Regions from separate parts of the Homo sapiens genome. Here region 2 is linked to region 1. Evidence: promoter capture Hi-C in 16 types of primary human blood cells and fetal thymus (Javierre and others, 2016). All regions are on one chromosome and are shown on one strand. The core of a region is centred on a gene start or on the middle of the fragment in contact, and the rest is flanking DNA. Distances in the headings are between cores, read along the strand shown.

Region 1 (5,054 bases), core at 1,035-3,534:
GTAGGTGTAGGACTGTGCAGGGTCATAGGACACATATACGGAATCAGACCATCAGACACCAGCACTCAAACCCTGGTTCTGTACTTTAACCTGAGCCTCAGTTTTCTCACCTGTAAATTGGGGATACACCTTGCAGGGTTGAGTAGAGGAAGAAATAAGATGTCTGTAAATGCCTCCAGTACCCCTCCTGGCATGTCTGAGGTGCTCACAAACATTTAAAGAAGAATGACCTTGAAAGGCCATCAGGGCCGGGGCGTGGTTGCTCACGCCTGTAATCCCAGCACTTTGGGAGGTCGAGGCAGGTGGATCACTTGAGGTCAGGAGTTCAAGACCAGCCTGGCCAACTGGGTGAAACCCCGTCTCTACAAAAAATACAAAAAATTACCCGGGCATGGTGGTGTGCATCTGTAATCCATTATTGAGGAGGCTGAGGCAGGGGAACTTGAACACAAGAGGCAGAGGCTGCAGTGAGCTGAGATCGCGCCACTGCACTCCAGCCTTGGCAACAAAGCGAGACTCTGTCTCAAAAACAAAAAATAAAAATAAAAACAAAAAAGGTCATCAGGACTATCCTCCCACCATGATTCCAGGGCAAACACTTGACCCATATTTTAAAAGCCCTCCAGGGGTGAAGAGTCTCAAAGACCCCCAGCCAATTGAACTACCTGCCTCATCAACTCATTTCCTTATGTCCACTTTCCTCCTGCTACAGAATTTGCCCAATCTCCCAGTGAGTCAACTACTCAAACTCATCAAGAAAGATCCTCTTTCATTGTAAGTGTTTCTCCCCAGCAACTCTCCCTGCAGCATTTCTTTTCCAGGCTAAACCATTTCTCTTTCCCTTTTTCCTTTATCTTTCCATTTCCTCATGGCACCCAATCCCCAAGCTCTCTCAAGCTTTAGGTCTCTCTCCCTGTCAGGAGTTCAGACAATCCCTGGATCAGACTTGGGAGATTAAAGAAGTGGGGAGATAAAAACTAGAAGAAGCAAGAGAGGTGAGGTAAAGGGGAAAGGGGGACTGGCCAGTCAGCCATAGGAGTGATGAGGCATGAAGAGTAGAGTCTGAAGCCCCTAGACACTGTTGTGCACGTGAAGGGCTTAGAAATGGGTACCAAAGGGTTTGGGGGCACGTGCTCAGGACAGGTACCTGCAGGAGCCGTCAGGTGCACAGCAGCCGTGGGCCAGGTCACAGTGGGAGCTGCAGTCATCGGCTGCAAGAGATTGATGTGGGAGGGGTGAGTCTGAGTCAGGGCACAGCTCGCTGGGATGCGGGACTCAGGAGAGGATTGGGGTTCCAGTAACTGAGCGGACTCAACCCTAGGGCAGGACATAACACAGAAACTCATCCCATTCCAAAAAGGCAACCTCGGTCTTGCTTGCCCCGCGGGTCGGAGCGACTGCAGTGCCGCCTCCGGCCGGCAGAGGTCAACGTGCAAGCGAGGACGGCTGGACAGGGCCGCGACTGGAGCCCAGCGGGCGCGCTCACCTCGGACAGGCTGACCGGGAGCCCCCAGAATGCACAACAGGCACACGAGATGCAGGCAGCGGCAGCCGCTGGGCATGGTCAGCGCCGGCCCCAGGAGGGACGGACGGATGGACGGCCGGACGCGTGGACACCTGTGGGACGGCACCGGTTGGGAGGCGGCCGGACGCGGAGATAGCGGCACGGATACGGGTTCCAAGTGACAGGAGCCGACGAGGGAGAGGGGCGCCGGGACAGAAGAAGGGGATGGGGGTAGCGGGAGGATGGGGGCAGGGAAGGGTTGAGCAGGCGAAGAGAGCGAGGAGAGCGAAGACAGGAACCCGGGAGCGGGGTCTGCAAGGAGGGGAAAGATGGGCATCGCGGAGCGAGGCCAGGCGCGGGAATGGCTGGGGTTGGGATCGTAGTCAGGACGGAGGGGTCCGCGGGATGGGGACAGCGCCGAGAGGCGGCCTCGAGCACGGAGGGGACGCGGGGGCCGGAGGGAAGGACGGTTCCCGGCAGCGAGCAGTCTCCGCCCCACAGCTCCGACAGCCCCCCCCCCCGCCACCACCACTCTCTCCCACGTCCCCTTTCTATCTCCGCCGCGCTGGGTTCGGCGGCGGCGCGGGGCCTGGAATCCCCACCGCGCCCTGTCCCCGCAGTCCTCACCTCCGGCGGGGAGGTGGCGCGCCCCGGGGCGCAGAGAGAGGCCGGATCCGACGGGCGCCGCCGAGGGGCCGTGAGGGAGCGCGGGGCCGCCCCTAGCTGGCCGCGGGGCCGGGCGCCGAAGCGGCTGCCATGCGAGCCGAGCGCTCGGGAATCTGGGGCTCCAGGCGACCCCGAGCGGCGGCAGCGGCTGCTCCTCGCGCGCGCTCAGGCCCCCTGCCAGGGGCGGAGCCCGCCCCCACCCCCATCCCCCCCCCCGCGACGCACGGCGCACACCTAGCACCCGGCGCGCCCCGGGGCCCCGGCCCTCCGCGGCTACCCAACGCCCCGAACCCAGCTTCCTTCCAAGAGAGGAGGAAATCTTAGGAGTCTCAATGGGAGCAAACTATTAAGCCAAAGGAGCGCAACCCCGTTATTCTCTCATCTCCCATGCCCACTTTCCCGACCAGCGCTCCGCGGCCCACGCCCCAGCCCTGCCTTCGCTTGTCCGCCGCTCATCACGCTTCTCATATAGATCTATGCACACGCAGGCAATCGCTCCCCGCCCTCCGCCTGTCACCAGCCCACGCCTCCCCGCTTGTAAAGCCTTCATCACCTGCTTCATCTGTGTGCTCCTCTGCTCCTCCTCGCCCTCCGCTTCTTCCTGTCCACGTTGCCGTCTCCAGCCTTCCAAGATCAACCTATCCCTATATAAATATCAACCCGATCCACCCAACCACACCCCGGCCCTACCCCCACCACCCTTCCCTCCCTCAAGTCTCAGCCCTTCCACCCCATTCCTTTTTGTGACTGCCTCTGAGAATCCTTTCTGGACTGGGAATGCCCCTGACTCTGTAAATGTGCACACAAAACCCCCTCCACCGCCAAGTCTTCTCCTGTACCCCATCACGTTCGTCCTTGGCCTCAGGCTAAACCTCAACTGCCCAAACCTGGAGCTCAGATTCAGAGAGTAACGGAGGGGGAGTGGGGGAAAGCTGCCCTCCAGGCCTCTTTGCCCCCTTCTGGCTAATGGCTCAGAGACACATTTCAAGACAAGGACCCAGCCAAGCTCGGTGGGCTCACGCCTATAATTCCAGCACTTTGGGAGGCTGAGGCGGGCGGATCACCTGAGGTCAGGAGTTCGAGACCAGCCTGGCCAACATGGTGAAACCCGTCTCTATTAAAAATACAGAAATTAGCCAGGCGTGGTGGTGCGCGCCTGTAATCCCAGCTACTCGGAAGGCTGAGGCAGGAAAATCGCTTGAAAACCCGGGAGGCAGACGTTGCAGTTAGCCAAGATCGCGCCACTGCACTCCAGCTTGGGGGACAGAGCAAAACTCCGACCCCCGCCCCCCCCCAAAAAAAGACAAGGACCCAGAACATAATTTCTAGTTTGTGCAGGACAACAGGGCAGAGGTCAGGAACGCTAGCGCCCATCTCTAGTCCTTCAGATTGAGATTTCACCATCTTTAAATTCAAAACATCGGAAGGAGCAGTCGCTAGTCGGGGCAGAGCAGCTTCCCACCTTCACACAGCCACCTCCACAGGCACAGAGCCCCAGGGCTCATTTTTCCTGCAGTCTCCATTGGATATAACACTTACACCCACTCAGCTCCCTAGCTGGCCTCCTCTCAGCTGTGATCGCCTCTTCCCTGAAGAGCTCTCTGAATTTGAGTAATGACATGGCTGTACCATTCATTTTGTTTAAACACATTTTTTTTTTTGGTGAAAAATTGCAAACAACCTATAATTCAAAAATTACTGTAGGCAAATAAATTATGGCACATCAACACTATGTGACTGTTAAAAATACTTTTTTTTTTTTTTGACGTCTAAAGATGTCCAAAAAAGCTAAGAATATGTAAAGTGCGGTGGGGGGAAGCCGGAAACAAAGAAGAACGTACTTTGACATTGGCAGTGCTTTTCTCTGGATGATCGAATTATAGAGGTTTTTTTTTTTTTCTTATTAATACTTTTCAGCATTAACACTTTTTTTTTTTTTTTTTTTTTTTTTTTTGAGACGGAGTCTCGCTTTGTGGCCCAAGCTGGAGTGCAGTGGCGCTATCTCGGCTCTCTGCAAGCTCCGCCTCCCAGGTTCACGCCATTCTCCTGCCTCAACGTCCCAAGTAGCTGGGACTACAGGCGCCCACCACCCCGCCCGGCTAATTTTTTTTTGTATTTTTAGTAAAGACGGGGTTTCACCATGGTAGCCAGGATGGTCTTGATTTCCTGACCTCGTGATCCGCCCGCCTCGACCTCCCAAAGTGCTGGGATTACAGGCGTGAGCCACCGCGCCCGCCCCTTTTTTTTTTTTTTTAAACAATGAACATCTATAACTTGTTTTTTGTTGTTGTTTGTTTGTTTTTCCTTGAGATTATCACTCTGTCGCCCAGGCTGGAGTGCAGTAGTGCAACCTCAGCTCAGTACAACCTCGTCTCAGCCTCCAGTATAGCTGGAATTGCAGGCACAGCGCCACCACGCCCAGCTAATTTTTTTTTCTCGAGACTTTCAGTGCTTTTCTCTGTCAGATATCATTATCTGACATTATATTAAATATTTATTGTTTATTGACCATCTCCCCACTACAAAGCAAACTCCAGAGGTCTGGGATGTTTTCTTGCTCATCACAGCATCCCCAGTGTCTAAAACAATGCCTGGCATAGTAGGTATTCAATAAATTTTTTTAAAATTCTGTTTGTTTAATTAACTCTTTTTTTTTTTTTTTTTTTTTGAGACAGGGTCTCGCTCTGTCACCCAGGCTGAAGTGCAATGGCTCCATCTTGGCTCACTGCAACCTCCGCCTCCCGGGTTCAAGCAATTCTTCTGCCTCAGCCTCCCGAGTAGCTGGGATTACAGGCGCGCCCCCACCAAGCCAGGCTAATTTTTGTATTTGTAGTGGAGACAGGGTTTCGCCATGTTGGCCAGGCTGGTTTACAACTCCTGACCT
Region 2 (4,930 bases), core at 1,883-4,382, 630 kb after region 1:
TCAAAAAAACTTCGGAGGTCACTGGCCTAGACTTCAGGTGGGGCAGCTGTGGGCAGGGGATGGCTTGTCTTGTCCATCTAAGTATCCAGCCTGACACATGACTAGTTCAGAGCCTGGCAGGGAGCAGAGGTCAGGGACACAGTATTGAATGAATGAAGTCCACCCCTAGAACTGACAGATGAGGAAACTGAAATAATTCTGGGGCGGGGAGATTGCTCAGAGGAGGACATGGGCAGGTTGAGAGAGTCTCCCCTCATTGCTGCTATGTCTGCAGCCTGCCCGTGTCCAACACCCAGCACCCACACAAACCTTACTTCTACCCACCCCAGGGAGCACAGCTCCCTCCTCTGCCTACCAGCAGAGTGGCCACCTGTCTTGAGCTTCTTACTGGATCCTGATTAGCAGAGCCAGACAGGGTTGTCACCTGCCATATCCCTCTACGTGGCAGAAAGTCTGTTGCCAGCTTTGTATCCTAGAACTCTCTGGAAGTCAATCTGGTGTAGGAGAAAGAATTTAGGCTCCAGACAGGCGTCAGTCCTCATCCAGCTTGGTGACCTTGGGCACAACACATAACTGGTATAAGCCTCAGTTTCCCAATCTGTATCTTGGGACCAATATTTGTACTTACTGTACAGAGTTGTTGTGAATGTTGAGTAGCCCACTGTGTGTGTAGGCTCTGGCATATACTAGGTGTTCAGTAAGATTCCTGTCCCTCTGTGTGCAGCAGGTGCCCCATGAAGAATCTGTTGAATTGTGATTTGACATCAGCATGGGAAGGAGAATTCCGAAGGCAGACAAATGAGCCTTTGCTCCCTCCTCTGCCTGCTGGCACGGTGCCCACCAGTCTGAGTTCTGTCCTGCACCTTCCTGCAGAAATGAAGCAGCCACTCTGGCAGCCTTGGGTCCCCTCCAGGCTCATCCACTCTGTGGTGGGGTGTCCTCCTCCTTTTCTCCCTTACAGCTCCTTTCCCTTTTTCTGTGCTGCCTTCACTTCAAGCATGAGCTGAGGGTGACTCCTGGTGGCCATTCATATAACTGCAGAATCCTGACCATTGTCACCGCCACCTGGAAGTGCATGAAGTCGAGTGTGCAAGGAAGCCATTCTTCACACTTTCCCTACACCTCCCAACTCCCTGTCAGGGCCCTGGGGAGCCTCAGGGGTGGCCACTCCCCGGGGACTCCACCCTCCGAAGTTCCACCTCTAAGGGCTTCACTTGCCTGATGGGTGGGGACGATCAAGGAGGCCTCTGCCCAGATCCTGCAGCACCAGGCCTGCCCCAGGCAAAAAGCAGGACAGTGGCTACTCTTCCCTCAAGTGCCACTGAACACTTTGCAGGCATCATTTTGTCCAATTCTTATCACTGGAGCCCATTATCACAAAGAAGAAACCAAGGTTAAGCAACTTGCCAAGGGTCACACAGCTCCTCAGTGCCCAAATGGTGAAATGAATACAGGTGACACTCAGTGGGACACCAGACCAGCCCCTGGGGGACAGAAGAGGCCTATAGGAAGGAGCCTGCCATGGGGTTAGAAGCCTCAGATTCTGACCCGACCTTGCCCCAACTAGTGGGGTGGCCTCCATCAAGGGCCTCTGCTCACTGAGCCTCAGCCTCCTCGATGGCATCATGGGGCGGAGGACAGAGCAGGATTCTCAGATTGGCTGTACATGGGAATCACTGGGAGGATTTTTCAAATACCCATGTTTGCCCAGCCCTGACTAAGGAAATCAAAATTGGTAGGGGTTGGCTAAGACAAAGGTAATTTTAAGAAAATATTTCTAGGTGATTCTATAGGCAGCCAGGGTTGAGAATGGGTCCTCTAGGAGTTCCCCATCTTCAGACTTCCCAGCCCTCTAGAGGTCAGCTCCCCAGGGCTCCCCTCTGTCCTAAGGGCTCTCCAGATAAACTTTTTTTTTTTTTTGAGACGGAGTCTCGCTCTGTTGCCCAGGCTGGAGTGCAGTAGCGCAATCTCAGCTCACTGCAAGCTCCGCCTCCCGGGTTCACGCCATTCTCCTCCCTCAGCCTCCTGAGTAGCTGAGACTACAGGTGCCTGCCACCACACGTGGCTAATTTTTTTTGTTTTTTTTTAGTAGAGGCGGGGTCTCACCGTGTTAGCCAGGATGGTCTCAATCTCTTGACCTCATGATCCGCCTGCCTCAGCCTTCCAAAGTGCTGGGATTACAGGCGTGAGCCACCGCACCCGGCCCAGAGAAACTATCTTAGCTTGTCTACCCAGACCCACAAGAAGCTGCCTCCCAACCACCCAAGGGGACACAGGCCCATCAACCCTTTCCAGAGGGGGCACAGTAGGCTTGAGACTCTTGAGTCTCTGACCCCCAGCCTGGCCTCTGGGGTGGGGGGAGAGAAAGTCATAGGGAGCTTAACCTCAACAGGATGAAGGCGCCATAATTAGGGTCAGGCGGTTGGCTCAGCCTGCGGAAATCCCCAGCTTAGTAGGGATGGGGAGTGGCACTGCAGCCTGCGGGAGGGTTCAGGGCAGAAGTGAGGGGGCAGGGGGAGCCCAGGCACATGGAAACCCAGGACCTAGGCCCCAATTGCATCCTGAGAGGGCCCACTGGGGGCTTCTCAACACAGTTCACTCCCTCCCTGGGGTTGCTGAACCCCAGGGAGGGAGGGAAAGGCTGACCAGCCCCCCAACCCCAGAGACCCTACTGCTCCCTCAGGCTGGGGTGCATCAGGATCATCCCCCTACCCCAGCCTTTGTCAGGAGGAGGAGGGCACCGGTGGGAAAAGGCTACGTGAGTGTTCCCAGGGCGACCCAGGCTTTTCTCCTGACTGTAATCCTCAGGCCTTGAGAGAGGGATCGCTTTCCACTGTGGAATGTAACAAAGGGGACAAAATGGGGCAGGGGAGGGGGGCAGAAGCCAGGGAGGGAAGCTTGCAGGGTGGTACTTTTAGCCCCCAAAAGGCCCTCCAGGAGGCAGCTGCACAGAGAGAACCCCCCTGCCCCCATGACTCCCTGAGCCTGTCATCCAGCTCACCCCAGGGCACAGGGTCTCATCCTGGGTTGTCCAGGTGTCCCCCCGCAGACTCCTGCCATGAATCCCAGTGCAGGGGGATTTGGATGATCACCTTTGCCAGCCACTCATTTTGCAGGGGAGGAAATATTCCAAGAGATGAAAACTAGCCAAGACCACGCAGCACCAGAACCACTCCCAGAAGCCCCGGCTTCCCCAGAGACTGCTTCAGTGAGCCGGCAAAAACTGAAGCCTGCAGCCTCAGGAGTTCCCACACACACCTAGGCCAGAATCCCTCTGCCCCGCAGCAGGACACCCCTCCCTCTTGCCCTCCAGGGTCATGGGCTAGACATGGCAAGGTAAGCAGAAGGCAGATGCATACTAGTCCACACAAGCTTGTGACGGCTGGGACTAGGGGCCAACCTAGTGGCTCCCACGTTGAGAATCAACGCCAATTCCAGGAAGCCTTCCCGGCTAACCCCCAAAAAGCTGGCAATACTTCCCTCCCACAACACAGCCTTGGCTCTCGAAGGCTGTCCTCTCCCCCAGCCTCACTCTGACTCATCATGTAGGTCCCGCATGGGCCTCAGTTCTCCTGGCCATGGGCTCTCCCCATACCTTAACCTGGGAACCGTTGTGGGCAGGACCATGTGGGACAAAAAGGTCCTGTGCCCAACCCAGCACCAATCACAGGGAGGCCTGGGGATAAGCAGGGGCTCTTGGAAAGGGGGCAGAACTCAGCTCAAGTCACAGAACCTGGGAAGGACCTTCAGTGGAAAGCCGCTTCAAATGTCATCTGGGATGAGCATGGTGGCTCACACCTGTCGTCTCAACACTTTGGTGAAACTGAGGCTGGAGGATTGCTCAAGGCCAGGAGTCGAAGACCAGCCTGGGCAACATAGCAAAACCTTGTCTCTCTGTGTATTTTTTTAATATTAAAAAAAAAAAATTTAAGGTCATCTGGTCCAGTCCCTCGTGCCTCCCAGTTGGGAGGCACTGAACTTCTCAACACTGCAGAAACAGGCATCTCTTCATATATTTAGTCATTCAGTCATCCATCCAATGAACCTTGCCCAACTATCTTCTACATCTCCGCAGCCCAGGCAACCCAATCCATTCTCAAGGCACAGACTAAATCCTTACCAAATAGAGTCAAGGGTCCATCCATTTCCTCTCCTGGGCCTAACATGGTGCTAAGTGGAAGTAAAAGGTGCTGATCAGCAACGGCCACCCACTTTTATGTTGCACGGTGGCATTCTCACCTGGCTTGCACATCACCAGGTGATGTTCATTTCAGACTCAGCCACCATTCCAGACAGGTTGTCCCTCACTGGCAGATGGGAAGCTGAGGCTGAGCAGGTGAAATGGTCTTGCAGCTGGAAGAAAGGTAGGGCCAGGACTTGGCCCAGGCAGCTAAGCTCCCAGCCCCAGATTCATTTTACACACCCACTCCCAGCCCTCCACCAGCTTGGGTTTCATGTGGAAACAGGATTTCCCCCGGGGGAATGAAAATTTGATTTTGGCCCCTAATTATAAAAATAATAACAGTGAAGATGGATCAGAGGCCTGCTGGTCTCAGTGCTGTGCTGATTTTGCTAAATGCACAGGTGTCAAGTGTTGCCCACAGAACCCCCCACCCCTCCTCGGGGCCAGGCTCACAATGCCCTTGGCTGGCACAGCTGCACATGCAGACACACACGCACGCACACACATGCATGCATGAGTCCCTGCACGTCCCAGGAGATGTGTCCCACCCCCTTCATTCCCCTCTGATAACCCAGCAGCTTCCAGCAGGACAGACACGTACCCTTCAGGCTGGCCATGTCAGGCACGTGCCAGACCAGCTGCCAGGGCCCAGAACCTCAGGCCTGCTGGGCTCTAGAAGGTGACTTTCTCCATAGCTGACCCTGTTCAACCTCAGGAAGGATGATAACTCTCCGGGATGTGAGGGAT

Evidence for each region. Contacts are between HindIII fragments. The CHiCAGO score rates a contact against its expected background, and 5 or more counts as called.
Region 2: a contact is called between a fragment that was not itself captured here and the fragment with the promoter of DLK2 in region 1, in 1 of 17 cell types (M0 macrophages). The highest score is 8.4, in M0 macrophages.

What each region holds. Positions count from the first base shown.
Region 1 is chr6:43,453,264-43,458,317 of GRCh38, forward strand. DLK2 (delta like non-canonical Notch ligand 2) reads right to left here and starts at 2,285. Exons shown (of 6, transcript NM_023932.4): 1 at 2,132-2,285; 2 at 1,487-1,617; 3 at 1,148-1,211. The coding sequence starts at 1,562. RefSeq lists enhancers at 1,264-1,313, 2,942-3,783 and silencers at 1,844-1,923, 1,954-2,003, 2,104-2,343. The HindIII fragment of the contact is 6,033 bases long and covers 896-5,054 here.
Region 2 is chr6:44,078,320-44,083,249 of GRCh38, forward strand. No RefSeq gene overlaps it. Among named protein-coding and RNA genes, the nearest start is that of SCIRT, 6.1 kb to the left of the region's middle. The HindIII fragment of the contact is 475 bases long and covers 2,896-3,370 here.